Linked DNA regions of Homo sapiens: all the other regions are linked to region 1. Evidence: promoter capture Hi-C in 16 types of primary human blood cells and fetal thymus (Javierre and others, 2016). All regions are on one chromosome and are shown on one strand. Each heading gives the region's core, a stretch centred on a gene start or on the middle of the fragment in contact. The rest is flanking DNA. Distances are from core to core; before and after follow the strand shown. Region 1 holds the start of GTF2IRD1 (GTF2I repeat domain containing 1). Region 2 has its middle 69 kb from the start of ELN. Region 3 has its middle 13 kb from the start of ELN. Region 4 overlaps ELN (elastin). Region 5 holds the start of ELN-AS1 (ELN antisense RNA 1). Region 6 overlaps GTF2I (general transcription factor IIi). Region 7 holds the start of EIF4H (eukaryotic translation initiation factor 4H).

Region 1 (2,921 bases), core at 422-2,921:
ATGAGCCACTGAGCCCAGCCAAAAGCGTCTTATTAATGCAGAGCTAGCCAAGCAGTAGGACTGGAGTTATTACTCAAATAAATCTCCCCAAGAACTCAGAGGCTAGGGTTTTTATGGATAATTTGGTGGGCAAGGGCCCAGGGAATGGGTACTGCTGATTGGTTGGAGATGAAATCACAGGGGTGTGGCAAACGGTCCTTATGCACTGAGTCGGTCTCTGAGTGGGGGCCACAGGATGGGCTGAGTCATGAGTCACACAGGTCCAGGTGAGTCAGTCGGTTGCCCGAATGCGAAAGTCTGAAAAACATCTCCAAAGACCAATCTCAGTTTCCACAATAGAGATGCTATCTATAGGAGGAAGTGGGGAACTCACAAATCTTGTGATCTCTCGCCACATGACTCCTGAGCAGTCAGATTATAAAAACGATGCGTAGGTTTTAGCAGCGTCCAGGCCCCTCCCATAATCCTAATCTCACGGCCTTTCGTTAGTTTTACAAAGGTGGTTTTGGTCTCTTGTATAAAAAGCAGGTTAGGTTTAAGGAGTAACTATTATCATCCTTGTTTCAAAGTTGAACTATAAACTAAATTCCTCCCCCGGTTAGCTTGGCCTATGCCCCGGAATGAGTGAAGACAGCCAGCGCGTGAGGCTGGAAGCAAGATGGAGTCAGCCACGCTAAACTTCTGTCACTGTCCTAATCTTTGCAAAGGCAGTTTGGCCAGGAGGCTGTGGGGAGACCTTGTGGGTTTTGCCAGGACCTGGGAGATTCTCGATCTATGTTTGGCTGTCCTTCTAAGCCAGAAGCTCCCTGGGGTTGGGGCCTGCCTGGGGTGAGTCCCTCCCTCCCTGCCATGCCCAGTCTAGCCAAGGTCTAGTTCAGGGATCAGGGCACCACGTGGGGGAAGGACTGTGTTCCTTGTGCTGAATTAGGATTTATGGCTTTGGGGCCGGATGGGAGGCGTGCGCACTGATTCAGTAGGAGCGCTGCTGTGGTGTGTGTGTGGTTGGTGGGAGCGGGGCGGGCGGGGGGCGGGGGGGCTGGTTGGGGGGACAGGGGTAAAAGCCTATCAGAGGGAGGTCCCATCAGACAAGATGGGACCAAGAGTCCAGTTGGCTCTGCTGCGACTTTCGGCCTGTCACTGCCTTCCTGCACATCTCAGGGGTGGGAGGGGGACAAAGGCTGTAAGAGTAAGAGGTACCTGGCCCAAGCCTTAGGACTAGAACCCGGGCCAGGCGGGAGTGACCAGCCGGGACACTCAGGGCCTCCGCGCGTTCCAGCTGGGTGACCTTGACCCTCCAACTTCAGCCCCCTGCGCCCGGCTGCTCTCCCAGTGGTGGTGGGGAGCGGTGGGGGTAGACGGGGGCGCGCCCAGGCTTTTCTAATCCGGCGCTGGTGGGGGAGAACCGAGGGCGCCACCGCCCCTCCCCGCAGGTCCGGGGCCGAGGGGTGCGGCGCGCTCTCCCCACCGCGGTGCCCAGGTCCCCGGGACGCAGGGGCGCTGGGTAGCAAGGGGGGTGCGCAGGGGCGCGGGGCGCGGGGCGGGCTAATCCCGTATGTAAATGGCAGCCAATGGAGGGTGGTGTTGCGCGGGGCTGGGATTAGGGCCGGGGCGAATGGCTGGCAATCTTACTGGGATTACAGAACAAAGAGCCTCCCCGCGCTCCCGCTCTCCGCTCCTCTCCCCGCGCCGCCCCGCCCTCCGCCGCAGCCCGCGCCGGGGGTGGGGGCCGCCGAGCGCCAGCCCCCCGGCCGGCCGATTCCCCCCCCGCGCCCCCTCCCCGCGCCTCCCTCCCCGCCCTCGCCGCGCCGCCGTCCTCGCCTCCCTCTGCCTCTCCTTCCCCCATTCTCCCGGATTAATTAAGGAGGCAGCGGCAGGAGGCTGAGTCCTGGCCGCGGGCCGGGGCCGGGGCGCCGCTGGCAGGAGCGCTTGGGGATCCTCCAAGGTAGGAGAAACTTTTGCGGGGGGCGGGCACCGAGGCCCTTCTCCCCTTCTCCCCCACCCCCGCCCCCGATCCCCTCCGCCTCCGGGGGGGGGGGTCCCCGCCCCTCCCCCTCTCAAGGTGTTACAGGAGCTGGGGCCGGCTTTTGGGTGCCCGGGGAGGCACGTGACTGGGATTATAATTCGGGCCCGGGGGGAGGGGAGGGACGGCCGCCCCCCACCTGCCCGGGAGGGGCCGGGAGCTGGGAGCTGTCACCCCCTCCCTCCTTGCCACCGGCTCTTCTGGAGGTGGGGGGCGTCCCGGGCCGGCGCCCGCAGGCTGCTGCAGTTGGCGAATGAGGTCAGTCGCGCTGCCCGCGGTGGCGGGCGCCGGGGTGGGAGCAGAGGGGGCTGGGAAGGCCGCGGTCCCCGCCTTTCCCCCCTCCACCTTCTCCCGGTCTGGGCCAGCCCCTGGCCCGCGCCCCCAACTCCCAGGCGGAGTCCAGTCCAGCCAGGATTGCCCCAGCAGGGTGGTTCCTGTAGTGGACCCCCCGCCCCGGCCCCGGGGAGGGGGCTGGCCTGTGTGGTGGTGGCCGCTGAATCCCGGGTGGAGGGGACTCAGAAGGTGGCAGTGGGGGGACCACAAAGGGTTCAGAGGAGTAAGTTGGGGATACTCGGTCTGTGGGTGGTCTCTGAGTTCCTGCAGATGGGTGGAGAGGACAGAGGAGGGGCCACAGGGTGCTGAACACCCACCCGCCCCATCCTAAGTACCCTGGGCATGATGGGCTTGACACCTCTCCTGGGCTCCTCACCCCTGGCCAGCAGCCAGGGAGTGAGACCCTGCCTCGCCTGGCGTGGGCCCAGGGAAGGGGGCCGCTGTGCCGCTGAGAGTTCGTTCCACCCTCCTGGCAGTGCTGGAGGGGGCTGGAGCTCTGGCGTCTGGCCTAGTGACCCTACCTCCCAGGACCAAGGTCCTGCGGTGGGAGTCTCCTGTGTCCCCATCC
Region 2 (2,921 bases), core at 289-2,788, 490 kb before region 1:
CCAATCCATAAACACAGGATGTCTTTCCATTTATTTAGGTCTTCTTTAATTGCTGTTTCTTTTTTTTTTCTTTTGAGACGGAGTCTCACTCTGTCACCCGGGCTGGAATGCAATGGCACAATCTTGGCTCACTGCAACCTCCACCTCCTGGGTTCAAGCGATTCTCCTGCCTCAGCCTCCCTGGTAGCTGGGATTAGAGGCAGGCACCACCATGTCTGGCTAATTTTTGTATTTTTAGTAGAGACGGTGTTTCACCATATTGGCCAGGCTGGTCTCGAACTCCTGACCTCAGGTGATCCACCTGCCTTGGTCTCCCAAAGTGCTGAGATTACAGGCGTGAGCCACTGCACCCCATCAAGACTTCTTTAATTTCTTTCAACTGTGTTTTGTGGTTGTCAGAGTATGTCTTGTGCTTGTTTTATTAAATTTATTCCTAAGTATTTTATTTTTATGTTATTATAAATGGAATTGTTTTCTTAATCTAATTTTTTGGATTGTTCATTTCCAAAAAATATAACAGATTTTTATATATTTATCTTGTATTCTACAACCTTGCTGAACTCATTTATTAGTTCTAATAGTTGTGTGTGTGTATATATGTCTGTGTGTTTGTGTAATCCTGAGGATTTTCTCTATACAAGGCCACATTCTCTGCAAATAGAGGCAGTTATACTTAATCCTTTCTAATCTGGATGCCTTTATTTCTTTCTCCTGCCCTGGCTAGAACATCTGATGCAATGTGGAATATAAGTGTTGACAGGGGACATTCTTGTCTTGTTTTTGATCTTAGGAAGAAAGCTTTCTACCTTTCATCACTGTGTATGATGATAGGTGGGTTTTTATGGATGTCTTTTTTCAGGTTGAGAAATTATCCTTCTATTCCTAGTTTGGAGATTGTTTTTATCACAAAAGGGTGTTGGATTTTGACAATGCTTTTTCTACATCTATTGAGACGATGATATGGTTTTGCCTTTTATTCCATTAATAGGGTGTATTAACTGCATTGATTTTTGTACACTGAGGCAAACTTACATTCCTGGCATAAATCTCACTTGATCATTGGTATATAATCCTTTTTGTATGTTAGTGAATTCATTTTCTAGTATTTTGCTGAGAATTTTTTTGTCTTTATTTGTAAGAATTATTGGTCTATAGTTTTCTTTTCTTGTTTTGTCTTTGTGTGGTTTTGGTGTCAGGACCTCAGAATGAGTTGGAAAATTTCCCCCCTATTTTTGGAAAGGTTTTTGGAGGATTGATATTAATTCTTCTTTAAATGTTTGGCAGAAATCATCAGTGAAGCCATCTGGTCCTGGGTTTTTCTTTGCAAGGAGTTCTTTTGTGTTTGTTTTGCTTTGTTTTGTTTTGTTTTAATTATTAATTCAATCTCTTGTTATAGATATTTTGAGATTTTTAATTTCTTTTTGTGTCTGTTCTAATAGCTTGAGGCTTTGTAAGAATTTGTCCCTGGGATACAATTGTTCATAGTATTCCCTTATAATTCTCTATCCTTCTGTAAGGTTAATAGTAATGTCCTGGCTGGGCGCAGTGGCTGACACCTGTAATCCCAGCACTTTGAGAGGCCGAGGCGGGTGGATCACCTGAGATCAGGGGTTCGAGACCAGCCTGGCCAACATGGTGAAACCCCATCTCTACTAAAAATACAAAATTAGCCGGCTGTGTTGACGTGTGCCTGTAATCCCAGCTACTTGGGAGGCTGAGGCAGGAGGATCACTTGAACCCAGGAGGTAGAGGTTGCAGTGAGCCGAGATTGTGCCACTGCACTCCAGCCTGGGCAACAGAGCAAGACTCCGTCTCAAAAAAAAAAAAATAGTAATGTCATTTCTTCCATTCTCAATTTTAGTAATTTGAATTTTTTTCTCTTTTTTTCTTGGCAAGTCTAAAGATTTGTGAATTTTGTTGATCTTTTTGAAGAACCAACTTTTTGGTTTCATTAGCTTTCTCTATTGCTTTTCTGTCTCTATTTCATTTATTTCCCCTTAATCTATATTATTTCTTTCTTTGTATTTGCTTTGAGTTTAACTTTGTTCCTCTTTTTCTTGTTTCTTAGGGTAGAAGTTTAGGTTATTGATTTGAGATCTTGCTTCATTTTTAATATAGGAATTTACAGCGCTATGTTTTCCTTCTAAACTTCTATTTATTCTTGAGCCAGTTTTGGTCATTTGTGTCTTCAAAGAATTTGTCCATGCTACTTGAGCTATCAAATGTACTGGCATGCTATTGCTCATAACATTCCCTTATTATCTGTTTCATGTACACAGAAGCTTTAGTAATGTCTCTTCTTTCATGACTAATATTGATAATGCAGTATTCTCCATTTTTGGTTTAAAGAATATAGCTTGAGTCTTATCAGTGGTGGTGAGAGACTGTGGTGGCCCTATGAGTCCCACCTCCTGCCATCACACCTTTGTGTGGCCTCCCCTTGAGCGTGGATGTGACTTGTGACTTGCTTCTAAATCATAGAATATAACACAGGTGAAGGCATGTACATGATGACGTGTATGTGATTACATTATGTAAGATAATAATCCATCTTGCTAGGACACTCTTGTCCTCCCCACCATACACCTAATGGCTTTGAGGAAGTAAGCTGCCATGTGGCAAGGAGATGGGAGTGGCCTCTGGCTGACAGCCAGGTGGAAACTGAAGCTCTTGGTCCAGCAGCCTGCAAGGAACTGAATTCTGTCAACCACCACATGAGTTAGAAGTCGATTCTCCACCAGTTGGCCTCAGATGAGACACCTTGATTGCAACTTAGTGAGCTAGAAGCAGAGGACCTAGCTAAGCTGTGCCTGGACTCCTGGCCCCCAGAAACTATGAGAAAATAAATACATGTTGTTTAAAGCCACTGTTTGCGGTGGTTGTGTTGCTACACAGCAATAGATAATGAATACATCAACACT
Region 3 (2,921 bases), core at 240-2,739, 440 kb before region 1:
AGAGAGAGCCCCAGGAGTTTAGGGACCCCTACCAGAGCCAAGCTGGAGACCCTCCCCCCAGGGGCTGGGCAGACACATATAGCCCTCTGACCCCAATCACCTCTGCCACTACAGCCCAGCAGCCATGGCCAGGCCTGTCCGCCCCATACTAGCCCTGCCAGACACAAAGGTGGCCCCAGCAGAAGGGACTGTCTGCACTGAGGCATCCACGTCATCCTACCCATCCCTCCAGGTGAGCACAGCCCCCAGGAGACCCAGAGGAGCTAAGATTCCAACACCAGGGCAGGGCGGGCCTGAGATCAGGGACAGGTCCTAGGCCAGAGTCCTTCAGCATCAGTCCATGTGATCTCGACTCCTCCCCAGAGGCGGCCGCAGGAGCGAGCTGGTCCAGGCCACACTGTGTCCTCAGGTCCCCGGGTGGGTGGCTCTGGTCAGTCCCTTTGCTTTACAACTGTGAGGTCGCCCTGCCTCCCATGGCCAAGCTGGGGCAGAGGGCGGATACCTGAATCCCTGCTGGCCTCCCAGCTTAATCCCTCAGCTTTCCTGAGAATGGCTCTGCTGTTCTTGGCCAAGGGCCTCCGCTGAGCCTGGCACAGCCTCGGCTTGGCCCTCACCAGCGAGTGAGGGCTTGGCTGGGGCCCAGCCAGGGCGGTGGACATGATTGAAGCTAGAACATGGGGCCTGGCGGGCGGTGGAGGTTCACTTGGACCCCAGGGAGTGGCTCTGCCGCAGGGTCGGGACTCACCTCCTGGGGCCCCTCTCATCTGACAGAAGCTTCAGGGCCTTCTCCGAGCCCACCTGGTCCAGAAAACATACAGACCCTGCTCCTTCACTCCCCTGAAACAAATCTGGGTTTTCCCACAAGGAAAGAAGCAGAAAGTTGAGAACAAAACCCTGGTTCTCCCTCCTGTTACAGGCCTTGATCGAGTCTCTACCATTTCCGAGGCTCAGTGCAAAGCTCCACGTAGAGGATGCAGAAATGAATTTTCTATGGAGCCCCAGGACGGGGCCACACCTCTTTTTACTGCCCCAGTTTCTCCAAACGGCCCTGAACCAGGGATCTGAGCAGGGCTGTAGCTAAGATTTTGCTGAGCAGCTATTTTGTGCTTGCATGCATGCAATGTGCTTGAGCTCCCTGACTCCCTGCCACACCCTCTCTAAGAGATGAGGAAACTGAAGCTCAGGGAGGGTACCTTGCCCAAGGTCAAAGTGCCCAAAGTGGAACAAGAGGGACTTGAACTTGCGCCATGTGGACTCAGAGCCTCTGCTTTTAACCACAGGGGTGTAGTGGGAAGGGGGTGTCTGGGGAAGGGCGTGTCTGGGGAAGGGCGGAAGGTCCTGAGGCCGGCTCAGAGGGAGACAGGCATTGCAGGTGGGCAGAACCAGGGGAGGACCGAATGGTGCTGAATGGTGCCCGAACAGTCTCCAAGGACCATCATAGAAACCCAGGAGCCCCCCTGGTCCATTTCATTAGTGATTTGTGTTTTCACATCTTTTCATTTACAGGCCTTATTTGGGGACCTCTTTCTGCAAAGGTACTTGGAGAGAAACAGTACAACCTCAGAACCCCAGTTACCCACCAACTTCCTTTTTTATTTTCTTTTTTTTTTTTTTTTTTTTTGAGACAGGGTTCAATCTGTCACCCAGGCTGGAGTGCAGTGGCACGATCTCAGCTCACTGCAACCTCCACCTTCCAGGCTCAAGCGATCCTCCAGCCTCAGCCCCGCCAAGTAGCTGAGACTACAGGCACACGCCATTAAGTCTGGCTAATTTTGTGTGTGTGTGTGTGTGTGTGTGTGTGTGTGTGTGTTTTGTAGAAATGGGGTTTTGCCATATTGCCCAGGCTGGTCTCGAACTCCCGGGCTCAAGTGATCCGCCCACCTTGGTCTCCCAAATTGCTGGGATTATAGGCATGAGTCACCACACCTGGCCCCAAGTTCCATTTTTTAAAAATTTTATTATAATCCCACCCCAGGAACAGCTGGCTCACCAGATGGTAAGTGACTATCCCGTGAGATGGCTCCATTAAGTCCATACATTGAATATTGGAGTCAAGGGAGAAACGCAGAATTAGGCAGACATCAGACTAGATTGGATTCACCATCATATTCTCAATGCTCAGCACAGGAACAGAAATTAGTAGTTGCTAAATCAATATTTGCTGAATAAACAAGTAAGTGCCTTTCTGTTAAATGGGTAATAGCCAAGCTTCTAAACTATCTTATTATCATTATTATTATTTTTTTTCTTTTAGAAACAGAGACTCACTCTGTTGCCCAGACTGGAGCGCAATGACGTAGTCATGACTCACTGCAGCCTTGAGCTCCTGGACTCAAGTGAGCCTCCTACCTCAGCCTCCTGCATGGCTGGAGTACAGGCATATACCACCATACCCAGCTAATTGTTTTGTTTGTTTTTTGCAGAGATGGGGGTTTCGCTATGTTGCCCACGCTGATCTCTAACTCCTGGCTTCAAGGAATCCTCCCACATCAGCCTCCCAAAGTGCTGGGATTACAGGCGTGAGCCACTGCGCCCAGACAAACCATCTCTGTTAATTGATGCCTGAGTACCATTGAATGAATCATTTAAACTCTACTTTGGATTAATCCTAATAAGGGATTTAGACTAGATCAGGGTCATTTAAGACACAAAGTATAGGCCATACCTCCCACTTCTTGCTCCCAGCAGACATGACCCATTGACTGTGTGATTCCCGTCTGCTGAGACTGGATATCCTCAGAATCCTTCTTAACACCACTTCTGATGGCCATTGCCCATCAAACACAGTTGGTGACGGAACCTATCTGCCATACTGGTTGGAATGAGCTCCCCCAGCCCATTAAAGAGAGAGGCAGCTGAGAGAAATCCAGGCTGTAGGGAGAGTTTAGGGAGGAGTAAGGAGGGACTAGATAAGATGCTCT
Region 4 (2,921 bases), core at 174-2,673, 420 kb before region 1:
TGAGTAGCTGGGATTACAGGCACATGCCACCACGCCTGGCTAATTTTTGTATTTTTAGTAGAGACAGGGTTTCACCATGTTTGCCAGGCTGGTCTCAAACTCCTGACCTCAGATGATCCGCCTGCCTCAGCTTCCCAAAGTGCTAGGATTACAGGCGTGAGCCACCACCCCCAGCCCATCATCCCCTTTTGAGGCTGAGACTCTGGGACTCAGAGAGTATAAACCACGAGTTAGAAGTAGAGCTAGGTTCCCAGGGGCTCCAAGTCTGAGCGGGAGGACCTGGGGTGTGTGATTCCACACTGCCCACACTTTGCCCGGGTTGGGGGTTGGATAAGTAGTAGATGGATAAGCTGGGCCACCCCATTCACTATCTTCTCTTCCCTCTGCAGCGCTGGGGCCTGGAGGCAAACCTCTTAAGCCAGGTAAGACCCAAGGCCTCGGAGCATTGAGAGACAGCGAGGGAGCTGGGGAGGGAGGAGCCTACCCAGCTGGGAATGGGACAAGGAAACTAGGAACAGGACAAGGAAGCCAACGGGCAGGAGGAAGGAGGGAGGTGTGGACACCGATTAGCCTCCCAAGGATGAGTAGGCCGGGGCCAGGTCCCAGGGCTTCCAGGAACAAGAGGCTGGAAGCAGCTCCATGTCCTCCCTGTGTGAGGGCGTCTAGCATCTACCCTACATGTGCATGTGTGTTCACCCAGCTGTCCAGAGACTCCTCTCTGCAAAGGAGAGGCTGTTAGAGGCAACATCAGGGATTGCTCCGGTTCCAGTGGCCTCCAAGCCTTACATGACCCTCGGGAGCTCAGACACAGATCCTCAGCCCCAGACTTCCCCTGAGTGGTCCCCTAGCCCTTGACCCCAGACCAATACCCCAGATCACCCTGACCTTGATGCCATTCTGAGCCCTTCTCCTGACTCCAGATGGAGCACTGGTCTCAAGCCAAAGCTTAACCCCAGCCCAAGCCCTGAGCCTAATCCCAGGCTGAACCCTGACCCTGCTGACCCTGGTCCCACAGGACCCCCAATCCTGGCCTTAGGCCAAGCCCTGACCCCAAGCCCAAGCTGAGCACCGACCATGGCCCCGGATAAGCTCCCCTCCTAATCTCAGGCCCTTTCCAGCTGTGTCCAGACCACGGAGTTTTCCAGTAAGAAGGTGTGGCCGGATCTATCCTGGCCTCGCCCAAGGGGCTGGGATCTGCCACGAGGGTCCACTCTCAGCTCTGGGGAATGCACCCCCAGGAAGGAAGGTGGGGCAGGTCCCTCCGGGAAATACTGGCGGATAAGGAGCAGGTGGAGGAAACAGCGTCTCTGTCCAGATTGATGGTCCCTCGGCATGAGACGCTCCACATGTGACTTTGGCCGCCCCACACCCTGAGCTGTGTTGCCCTGGCTCAGAAGCCCAAGTCTCCAGGACACAGTTTAGATGTCCAAGAGCTCTTATGAAATCCTGATAGTTGATAATCCAAGTGCAAATGAATCTTCAAGACCCAGATTCCCCTGCGCTAAAAGTCCATCTGGGTTGTGAAACACCAGGGCTGGAGCCAGGAGAGGCGGGAGAACGGGGTGCCTGGGGTCTACAGGGCTCTGCAAGGCCAGGAGACCCTGGGAGCTTGCCACTTATCCCCGCCAGCACCTATACCCTGTCTTCCTGGAGCAGGTGAGGGTTCTTAGCAGGGTCTTTGACGGTGAAGAGAGGACAGGGGAGATGATAGTGGTGCAGAGGTGTGGAGGTAGGTCTGTGCTTGGCCTAGAAGACCCAAATTGAGGAGGTTGTGCCTGCAAAGCTGGAGGGTACATTCATTGATCCCACTAGGAGCAAGAGACACATAGCAGGTTGTGGTTAAACACCAGAGGAAAGACAGACAACTCCCTACGAAGTTCCAGGATGTGTAGTTGCAAAAGTGAAGCTTTTGTTAATGAAAGATTTAGGTTAGACTTCTGAAAGAACTTCCAGCTCAGGGTGAAGGAGTCAATCCAAAGGAAAGTCAGAGCATCTCCTTCTGATAAAAAGGGCAGTGTTTCCAGGCAAGGGGCTGGATTCCATGACCTCCCCGAAGACTCAGGGCTACAGAAGGGTCGGCAGAGCCCCCATGGCACCCCCAGGGAGGCCCCCACATCCGGGCTGCCAGGACGTCTGGGCCTGCCCAGGCAGGATGGAATGGAGCACAGGCAGCGCGTGTCATGCTTGGGAACAATTAATCCCTTGGTGACAGAGGGTGGGTGGCCTGGCAGCTGCTTTTCCACGTGGGCGCCACCACAGGTCCAAGCTGGCCCTGCCCTGCCTCAGCTCTCAGCGGGGGACCAGGCAGCTGGAAGCCTGCACACCCAACACCCTGAGCACTAGCCAGAGGCCAGCCGCCCACTGAGAGGGGCACGGGCATGGACAAGAAGGAACTGGGAGCACCCACTGTGTGCCCTGGGTAGGTTGCACAACTAGGTGCTTTCTGCACACATGCTCACTGGTCCCAGCAAGGCAGGTGATATAATGGCCATTTTGTAGATGGCAAAAACTAAGCCTCATCGGAGAGGCAAATTGACCTGCTTGTGCTCATGGAGGCTGGGTAGCAGCAGCAGGGTCTGAATCTAGAACTCTCTGACTCTAGAAAGAAGGAGGATGGAGCTGGCCAGGTCCCTGGACTCCCAGCTGTGGTCAGCCCCTCCCCGCTTTCTCCTCCTTTCCAGATGCTAGAATCCTTGGGGCATTTGGGGCAGGTGAGTGCAAAGGAAGGAGGGCAGGCAGAGACAGAAGTGGTCAGGCCACATGACAGGATGCTCAGGCTGGGATCATGGGAAAAAGGAAGATGGCCCCAGAGAAGCTGCCTGCCCCCCACTGCAGCCCCAGCCTCTTCTCACTTCCTGTGCAGTCCTCAGCTTCCCCTCCCAGCCCCTCTGTGGACAGGAAAGGTCTGAGCATGTCCCTTG
Region 5 (2,921 bases), core at 211-2,710, 390 kb before region 1:
AGGGGTCCTTGTCACTGAAAAGGTTAAGAACTCCTGGCCAAATGCAGCAGCTCACAACTATAATCCCAGAACTTTGGGAGGCCAAGTCGGGTGGATCACCCAAGGTCAGGAGTTTAAGACCAGCCTGGCCAACATGGTGAAACCCTGTCTCTACTAAAAATACAAAAAAATTAGCCGGGCATGGTGGTGCGCACCTGTAGTCCCAGCTACTCAGGAGGCTGAGGCAGGAGACTCACTTGAACTCGGGAGGTGGTGGTTGCAGTGAGTCGAGATCACGCCATTGCACTCCAGCCTGGGCGATAGAGTGAGACTCTGTCTCCAAAAAAACAAAGTTATGAACTCCTGAGCCTGCACACACTTCATATTAGGGAGGAGGAAGCTGAGGCCCAGCAAGGGAAAGTAACTGATCCAGGGTCACACAGCAAATCTATGCCAGGGCCGAGGCTCCAGCCCTCTTTCCATAAGCTTCTGTCCTCTTTGATCAGGTCTTGGTTAATGATCAGCTCTTCTCAATCTTGCAGGGTTAGTTCCTGGTGTCGGCGTGGCTCCTGGAGTTGGCGTGGCTCCTGGTGTCGGTGTGGCTCCTGGAGTTGGCTTGGCTCCTGGAGTTGGCGTGGCTCCTGGAGTTGGTGTGGCTCCTGGCGTTGGCGTGGCTCCCGGCATTGGCCCTGGTGGAGTTGCAGGTGAGTTTCATGAGTCAATGAGCCTGAGGGGCCCCCGAAGCCTCCATGGGCCCCGCCTCCATCTCTAATCCCCCTCTCTCTCCCTCCCTCAGCTGCAGCAAAATCCGCTGCCAAGGTGGCTGCCAAAGCCCAGCTCCGTGAGTGCCTCGCCCACCTTTCTCTCCTCTCCCCAACGATCTCAGAGCTGGTTAGGGGCAACAGCCAGGGAGGAGGCCGCTGCTTGGATCTGGGCCCCTTCCTCTGGGACTAGGCTCAGCTCCCTGGGCAGGACACCTCCTTAGGGGCATGCTCCCTGCCTGCTGTCGCCACCACTGCCCTCTGTCTGCAGGAGCTGCAGCTGGGCTTGGTGCTGGCATCCCTGGACTTGGAGTTGGTGTCGGCGTCCCTGGACTTGGAGTTGGTGCTGGTGTTCCTGGACTTGGAGTTGGTGCTGGTGTTCCTGGCTTCGGGGCAGGTGCAGATGAGGGAGTTAGGCGGAGCCTGTCCCCTGAGCTCAGGGAAGGAGATCCCTCCTCCTCTCAGCACCTCCCCAGCACCCCCTCATCACCCAGGGGTGCATAGTAAAATCCTTGTTAGGTTCTCCTAAGCATCTGGGGGTAACAGATAGCGGGAGGAGGGCAGACCAGGCCAAGGGACCCCAGGCTGCCCAATTGCAGAGTATCTGCCTCCTCAGTAGAGGGGTGGCAGGGCTCCAGACTGAGAAAAAGCCTGCCCTCCAACCAGGGAAGGAGCAGGTAGATCAGCCTGGCTCCCCTTCAGCAGTGCTCTGTGGCCAGGGGACCACTAGGAACTCCAGTTCTTCACCAGCTGGTGACTGAGCCCCACTCTGTGCCCAGCCTCAGGCAGTCCATGCTAGGCCTGGGGAGAGAAGGAAGGGGCAGACGGAAGGTGGAGGCACTGTTCAGCCCTAAAGCTCTGTGCCTGTACAGCTTCAGGGCTTTGAGGAAGCAATAGAGGCCAAGGAAGTCAGGGAGGGCTCTCTAGAGGAGGCGGCAGAACTCCCAGGCACAGAGCTCGGCTCCTGACCACTCCCCAACTTTTCTTTCTCCCCAGTACCTGGAGCCCTGGCTGCCGCTAAAGCAGCCAAATATGGTGAGTGCACCCCACAACCACTTGTGGCTCCCTTGCCACCACACCATCCCTGACAGCACAGGACTGGGGTGGTCACAATAGAAAAAGGCAGTTTCGGCCGGGCGTGGTGGCTCACACCTGTAATCCCAGCACTTTGGGAGGCCGAGGCAGGCAGATCACCTGAGGTCAGGAGTTCCAGACCAGCCTGAACAATATGGTTAAACCCCATCTCTACTAAAAATTCAAAAATTAGCCAGGCGTGGTGGCGGGCACCTGTAATCCCAGCACTTTGGGAGGCCGAGGTGGGCAGATCAACTGAGGTCGGGGGTTCCAGACCAGCCTGACCAATATGGTGAAACCCCATCTCTACTAAAAACACAAAAATTAGCCAGGTGTGGTGGCGGGCACCTGTAATCCCAGCTACTCGGGAGGCTGAGGCAGGAGAATCGCTTGAACCCAGGAGATGGAGGTTGCAGTGAGCCGAGATCACGCCACTGCACTCCGGCCTGGACGACAGAGCGAGACTGTATCTCAAAAAAAGAAAAGAAAAGAAAAAGAAAAAGGCAGTTTCTAGGACACGTTTATGACAGTTTAAAAACCTGGCCCCTGCCCACTAAATGCTTATGGTGCCTTCAACCCCTGTGACCACCAAAAACACCCTTGAAATCCCAGTTGCCCCCCAGGAGGCAATTCCACCATCCCTAAGCTTGCCCTGACCCTGACAGTTACATGGTCCCTGTGTCCAGGAAGGGACTGGGCCTGCTGTGGGTATGAGGAGTCTGGGCAGTCTCTGCCTCCACCCCAGCTCTCTGGCCCGAGCAAAGGAGCTGGTATTCCTCATCTGGGCACCCCGGGCCCCCGCCCGCCTTCCTGTCCTGCCAGCAGGACCGCTCCCACCACGAGCCAGCCCAGAGGACGTGGCAGTCCCACAGCCTCTGCACTTGGCGCTCTGGCAGCCCTGCCTGGCCAGACCCACGCTGTCTGTAGCCCCTGAATTCCTGGCCTCCTGTGAGCAGCGTTGGTGGGAGGTGGAAGACTCCCCCAGGGATCCACCAACCAGCCGGGCAGGTCCACTTGGGGCCAGTTTCTACCTCGGAAAATCCTGGCTTCCTCAGCGCCGACCCCCAGCAGCCCTGGCCTCCTCCCCTGCTCACTGCTGACTGCTTG
Region 6 (2,921 bases), core at 241-2,740, 270 kb after region 1:
GTCGAGAAACCCATTTTTTTTCTTACTTTCTCAAAACCAATTAATTGCAACAAAGAGTTAATTGCAGAAAAAATTGAGGATGTGGTGAAGTTTATAGCTGTTCTGATGCCTGAATGCCATGTTCCATATGACTTAAAACACCCAAAGATTAATTAATAAGTTTATGAAACAGGGTTTTTAAAATAGAATATATGGTGTGATATTTTATCAATAACTACATCCAGCTGGGTGCGGTGGCTCACACCTATAATCCCAGCACTTTAGGAGGCCAAGGCAGGAGGATCACTTGAGGCCAGGAGTTCAAGACCAACCTGGGCAACATAGGGGGACCCCTATCTCTACAAAAGTTAAAAAAAAAAAAATTAGCTGGGCGTGGTGGTGCAGGCCTGTAGTCCCAGCTATTTGGGAGGCTGAGGTGGGAGGATCACCTGAGCCTGGGAAGTCGAGGCTGCAGTGAGTGGTGCTCCAGCCTGGGTGAAGGAGGGAGACCCTGTCTTAAAAAATAAAGTAACTACATTCATCTCTATATATGTTCACATTTAACAGATTGAACTTTATTATTTGTCAGTGAAGAGGAAAATGTGATATCCCTGATATTTTCAATATTTTACAGTCTTTGTTGTATTAAAAAAGCACTCTAGTAGATTTGCCTTTTTCTCTTTCTTTTTTTTTTTTTGGTTTATGATCGATTGGGTTACCTTCATAAAATATATTTATGCTATTAAATCTATTGTGGTCTAAAATGTTTGTGTGACTGAAAAAGTGAAGTCTTTTCAGTAAGGAAAACCTGTCTTCCCTTCCCCTGGGCCTCAGCTGTGAAGTTTGGATTTGGACTGAGATCCATGGGATGGAGCTCCACAGGTGTCCCTTCCATTCCATCTACAGCTGTGTTTCCTTTCTCATGTCATTCTACTCTAGCAGCTTTCAGTTTATGTCACTCAATGAATAGTCAGCTTAAATGATGATCTATAAGGATACTTAGGAGACCTTAACCTATAGGGGAAATACTTTTATTTTAGAAGTTACTGCTTAATGTTTGTAAAAAAATATATAGTAATATTAAGCATTTATAATGCTTTGACAGTATTCATAGGTGAAATGAGTGTATTTTGTTTTAACCTTTGGAAGCCAGCATAAAAATACTCTTAAGGTTTCTAAAATCTGTTTGGGAGTTGGAAAATCGGGTTTTTTAAAAAGTATATTTTCAGAATTGAGGTCCAAACTTACACACTTCTGTTTTCCAGATTGTTTCTACTTAGGTTGGAACCTTAATCTATTTATAGGGTGTCTTGACCATTTTTAATCCTTACAGTCATACAAACCCAGGTGCCAGTCAAGTTTTATTTCACAGGGAGGTTGTCATTTTAAAATTGTTTTCTGTCCTGGTCCCGTGGCTCATGCCTATAATCTCCGCACTTTGGGAGGCTGAGGCAGAAGGATCACTTGAGGCCAGGAGTTTCAGACCAGCCTGGGCAACATAATGAGACCCTGTCCCTACAAAAAATTAAAAGAAAAATAGCCAGGTGTGTTGGTCCCAGCTATTTGGGAGGCTGAAGCAGGAGAATCATTTGAGGCCAGGAGCTCGAGGTTGCAGTGAGCTATAATCATGCCACTGCCCTCCAGCCTGGGCGATAGAATGAGACCCTCCCGACAGATAGATAGATAGATAGATAGATAGATAGATAGATAGATAGATAGATAGAATGAGACCCTGCCAATAGATAGATAGATAGATAGATAGATAGATAGATAGATAGATAGAAAGAATGAGACCCTGCCGATAGATAGATAGTTTTCTATCAAATTTTTTCCTAGATTTGAACATGTTTTTCTAAAGTAGCATTCAACACATCAGCATTTTATAGCGTCATTAGTTGTTACTATGATTATGTTTTTCTGAAATAGTATCCTTTACAAAAGCACTTCTGTCTTTCTAAGCACATACATAGGTCCTAAAATGAATTTGTCTGATGTTGGTGACCTCGGAACCATTTTCTCCAGTTGATTAGCACGGCCAGCCAGTCAATAATTTCAGGTCACTGTTGGCCTTAGAGGAAGAGCCCAAAGGCAGCAAGCAAGGGTGCTGGTGTCCAGTCGCCTTCTAGAAGCATTTTCACCTTCCCTTAAGATTTCCCTTGATTAACACAGAAGTGTCTATAGAAGTGACCCAGTGCTGCCCCGGGCAACATCGTATATTAGGCCAAATTTGCATTTCTTACCTTTATGAGAAGCACCCTCGTAGTCTAGTGGAGTTACACACACACAGTCTGATCTCAGCTGTGCTCTCCAGAGATACAACATAGTCCAATCAAATAACATCCTCTGAGCCTGTTTCTTTAGCTGTAAAATAAGAATAACAATTATACCCATCTAAAAAGATAGTGTCTTGTACTTGAGTGATCTTTTTTCTATGATACTGTCTTTAACACAATAATTATTTTCTTCACCATACCACATTTGTTTTTAAATAAGAATTTCTTAAAATGATGTTTTCAGTATTTTATAGATGATGTTTGAGCAGCAATATTAATAGCATGTTACCTGACACTTTGAGGGACTAGAAGATGACAGTGGCAGCTGATATGACCCAGATGTCTCTAATCCTAACATGAGGTGTACTGAAGGGTCACAGCAGAGTGAGTTCCTGGTGTATCCACAAGGAAATGAGCACGGAACTCTCACAACAGCGTGTGTGCTGTGCGCTGTGCTTGAATAGCTGACTGCTCCTTTATACACAGCCTCTGTGCTGACTGAATCAACAGTATCTGTTTCATCATAATGCAGCCCTATTTCTTTAAGCCCATACATTTTGCACTTGTTAAAAGTATTTGAACAGGCCAGGCGCGGTGGCTCACACCTGTAATCCCAGCACTCTGGGTGGCCGAGGTGGGTGGATCACTTGAGGCCAGGAGTTTGAGACC
Region 7 (2,921 bases), core at 184-2,683, 280 kb before region 1:
GAGACAAACCTGGGCAACATAGTGAGACTCTGTCTCTACAAATAAATGTTTTACAAAGCAAATTAGAGCCAGGCACGGTGGCTCATGCCTGTAATCCCAGCACTTTGGGAGGCCAAGGCGGGTGGATCTCAGTTCAAGACCAGCCTGGGCAACATGGTGAAACGCTGTCTCTACTAAAAATACAAAAATTAACTGGGTGTGGTGGTGCACGTCTGTCACCCCAGTTACTCGGGAGACAGAGGCAGGAGAATTGCTTGAACCGAGGAGGTGGAGGTTGCAGTGAGATGAGATTGCGCCACTGCACTCCAACCTGATTCTCCATCTCAAAAAAAAAAAAAAAAAAATGCAAATTAGGCGAGGTACTGCCCGCCTATAGTCCTAGCTACTCCAGAGGCTAAGGCGGCAGGATGGCATGAGCCCAAGAGGTCAAGGCTGCCGTGAGCTACCACTGTTCCACCGCAGTCCAGCCTGGGCGACAGAGCGAGACCCTGTCTCAACAACGAACCAATAAATACATAATAAAAAGTAATGGTTAAGCGGAAGATACCTAGGTACACATCACAACAAAATTCTATGAGGTTCTTTCAAAGTGTGCTTAGATAATTAAGGTTTGTCAACATCGTGGCATCCACAATTACTACCATCTCAATCACAAACCTGGAAATTTACCCGTGTAATTAATTCCCACTGCATAACCATGTTTTGTTATTGCTAGATGATGGAATCCACAACAGTATCCAATTCTTTTTCCAAGGCAACGACTTCTGCAAAAAACCGAGATGTGCAGTCTCTCTTGCTAAGTCACCGATCACCTATACTCTCTCCTCTCAAAACCCCCCAATACCCAGGCAGCGAGTAAGCCCTGGAAGGCAGGATTCGTGTCTGCATCCCACCGCCTCGCACCCCCTTCCGGGGCATCCTCATCGTGTGGCCAGCTCCTGCCTGGAGAAGGAGGTGGCCTTTACTTGGGTGTCACCCGGGGACCACTTGGGGGTCCAAGCGGGACAGGCCTCCGAGGTCCCCGCCATGTATGGAGGCCGAAAGGCAGCGTCCCAGGCGAACTGGAGAGGGAGTTCCCCCCAGCTCTCCAGGTCACCTCCCGCCGACGGACGGAAAGGCCGGCGCGCACGGGCGTGGTGCGGCGGGGATAGGAGGCAGCCACGGGCGCACCCCAGGGCCAGCACATAATGGGCCGCGTAGGCCGGGCAGGCGTCCAGCTGGGACGCCGCCGCACCACGTGGGCTGCAGAGCGCACGGGGCAGGCAGCTGCCGGTGGGCCCAGGGCCGGGCGCTGCGCGGCCAGCGTCCGTGCGTGCGTGCGCGCGCGCGCGTGCGCGTGCCTGCGTCCAAGGGATTTGCGATCAGGCGGCGCGGCGGACAGCCCCGGCGGCGGGGCGGGGGGAGTTATATTGCGGGGTCCTTCCTCGCTCACCCTGGTTCCTCTCGGAGCGGAGACGGCAAATGGCGGACTTCGACACCTACGACGATCGGGCCTACAGCAGCTTCGGCGGCGGCAGAGGGTGAGGCGGGCGTGCGCGGGCCCCGTCGGGGGCTGCGGGACCGGCGGAGTCGGGGCCGTCAGGGTGGCGGCCGTCCTGCGCTCAGCCGGGGCGGCGGGAGGCGGGGGCCCGCGGAGGCCTAGGAGCGGCGCCTGGAGGGCCGGGGCCTGGAAATGGCGCGCTCGGAGACGGGGCGGCGGCGGCTGGGCTCCCGGGGTCTTGCTTGCGGGGCGGATCCCTTCCACTGCCTCCCGCCAACGACAACGTGTTGGTTTTTGCCCTGCCTTGGCCGCGGCGGCGCCGATGCCCGGAGACGAGCGCCCGCTTCCAGCCCCATCCCCCCTACGGTAGGACCAGTGCGGGGCTGAGCTGTGGCGCTGGGGTACGGGCCACACGGCCTGCCCCGCTCCGGTCCCGGCCTCTTTCGCGGCCCTCTGTTGCCTGCCCGCCTTGCAGGCCCCTGGCCCCTTCGCCACGAGGCCGGCCGACTGGGGAAGGTCGGCAGCCAAGAGGGGCGATTCCCTTCCCCTTACGTGTGAGGCAGGGATTTGGCGGCTCTGGCCCGGGGATGGTACGACTCCTTGCGGGCGGGGGGAGACCAAGGAGATAAATCCATCGTAGCTTCTTTGTATTAATCTTTCTTGGGTCACAGTGCCTTGACAGGTGCTACGTGCTCTTTGGCACAATTTCATTTCTCCTTGGTTTCTCGCTCTGATCTGGAGAAGGAACCGCATTTAGCGTCGTCCTGATTGTTGTCAAATGCAGACAACTATGTATAATTGAAACACTTTGCTTAAAAGAAACATCTTTGAATAGAGAGCTCATGGTGTTTAATTCCAGGACTCTGCACTTTTTTTTATTTTATTTTTTAAATACAAGTTGCCTCGTTAGAATATAGGCTATGAACATCTTGCTGTTTGTCAAGGACACACTTGGGCTTTGTGTTTTCTTGCAGAAAGGATTACTTTCCCAGGATAACACCACAATAATACACACTGAGGTGTTCAGTCTCCTGGGTTGCAGTCCAAAAGTATCTTTGTTTGGTAAAGAATGATCACTTTTAATACCTTGGTTTGGGAACGGCTCAGACAAAAGCTTGTTTCGGGGCAGGAGTGTAGCTAATGTTCATGATACTGTAACGTGGAAGTGTGCCGGTGTAGGTGGAGCTATTGTCATTCCAAAGAACATTTTATTTGCTAATAAAAAAAGAAGTAAATGTTGGATGACATGAAATTATCGCCTTTGGGTTAGGTTTCTAAACATCAAATTTGTTCTCAAGTCATTTCGAAATTTAATAACTAGGGTTTTTTTTTTTTTCCTAGTTCCAAAAAACGTTCACAGAAGTACCCAGAAAAATTCTTCTTAAACAGCGTGGTCAATTTAAGTTTTAGTTGCATTGGGACTACAATAAGGTGACCTTAT

Evidence for each region. The method cuts DNA at HindIII sites, captures the fragments that hold promoters and counts their contacts. A CHiCAGO score of 5 or more calls a contact.
Region 2: a contact is called between a fragment that was not itself captured here and the fragment with the promoter of GTF2IRD1 in region 1, in 1 of 17 cell types (erythroblasts). The highest score is 5.7, in erythroblasts.
Region 3: a contact is called between a fragment that was not itself captured here and the fragment with the promoter of GTF2IRD1 in region 1, in 3 of 17 cell types (erythroblasts, total B cells and naive B cells). The highest score is 6.1, in erythroblasts.
Region 4: a contact is called between a fragment that was not itself captured here and the fragment with the promoter of GTF2IRD1 in region 1, in 6 of 17 cell types (neutrophils, erythroblasts, naive B cells and 3 more). The highest score is 10.7, in neutrophils.
Region 5: a contact is called between a fragment that was not itself captured here and the fragment with the promoter of GTF2IRD1 in region 1, in 1 of 17 cell types (neutrophils). The highest score is 8.9, in neutrophils.
Region 6: a contact is called between a fragment that was not itself captured here and the fragment with the promoter of GTF2IRD1 in region 1, in 3 of 17 cell types (non-activated CD4 T cells, total CD4 T cells and erythroblasts). The highest score is 6.1, in non-activated CD4 T cells.
Region 7: a contact is called between the fragment with the promoter of EIF4H here and the fragment with the promoter of GTF2IRD1 in region 1, in 2 of 17 cell types (naive CD8 T cells and total CD4 T cells). The highest score is 6.7, in naive CD8 T cells.

The regions. Positions count from the first base shown.
Region 1 is chr7:74,452,235-74,455,155 of GRCh38, forward strand. GTF2IRD1 (GTF2I repeat domain containing 1) reads left to right here and starts at 1,672. Exons shown (of 27, transcript NM_005685.4): 1 at 1,672-1,942. RefSeq lists an enhancer at 1-487 and silencers at 1,373-1,722, 2,225-2,294. The HindIII fragment of the contact is 10,217 bases long and covers 1-2,921 here.
Region 2 is chr7:73,958,129-73,961,049 of GRCh38, forward strand. No RefSeq gene overlaps it. Among named protein-coding and RNA genes, the nearest start is that of ELN, 69 kb to the right of the region's middle. The HindIII fragment of the contact is 1,484 bases long and covers 797-2,280 here.
Region 3 is chr7:74,013,552-74,016,472 of GRCh38, forward strand. No RefSeq gene overlaps it. Among named protein-coding and RNA genes, the nearest start is that of ELN, 13 kb to the right of the region's middle. The HindIII fragment of the contact is 1,434 bases long and covers 773-2,206 here.
Region 4 is chr7:74,037,318-74,040,238 of GRCh38, forward strand. It overlaps ELN (elastin), which reads left to right. Exons shown (of 33, transcript NM_000501.4): 4 at 390-422. Among named protein-coding and RNA genes, the nearest start is that of ELN, 11 kb to the left of the region's middle. The HindIII fragment of the contact is 961 bases long and covers 944-1,904 here.
Region 5 is chr7:74,059,365-74,062,285 of GRCh38, forward strand. It overlaps ELN (elastin), which reads left to right. Exons shown (of 33, transcript NM_000501.4): 23 at 522-683; 24 at 776-820; 25 at 1,012-1,137; 26 at 1,737-1,775. ELN-AS1 (ELN antisense RNA 1) reads right to left here and starts at 2,916. Exons shown (of 2, transcript NR_183555.1): 1 at 2,846-2,916; 2 at 1-668. RefSeq lists enhancers at 2,250-2,750, 2,751-2,921, 2,795-2,921 and a silencer at 2,892-2,921. The HindIII fragment of the contact is 1,995 bases long and covers 464-2,458 here.
Region 6 is chr7:74,725,183-74,728,103 of GRCh38, forward strand. All of the region lies in intron 12 of GTF2I (general transcription factor IIi), which reads left to right. It overlaps GTF2I-AS1 (GTF2I antisense RNA 1), which reads right to left. Exons shown (of 4, transcript NR_110044.1): 2 at 2,220-2,340. Among named protein-coding and RNA genes, the nearest start is that of GTF2I-AS1, 2.3 kb to the right of the region's middle. The HindIII fragment of the contact is 3,415 bases long and covers 1-2,921 here.
Region 7 is chr7:74,172,923-74,175,843 of GRCh38, forward strand. EIF4H (eukaryotic translation initiation factor 4H) reads left to right here and starts at 1,434. Exons shown (of 7, transcript NM_022170.2): 1 at 1,434-1,520. The coding sequence starts at 1,462. RefSeq lists a silencer at 1,185-1,694 and enhancers at 1,197-1,491, 1,473-1,986, 1,987-2,499. The HindIII fragment of the contact is 12,534 bases long and covers 1-2,592 here.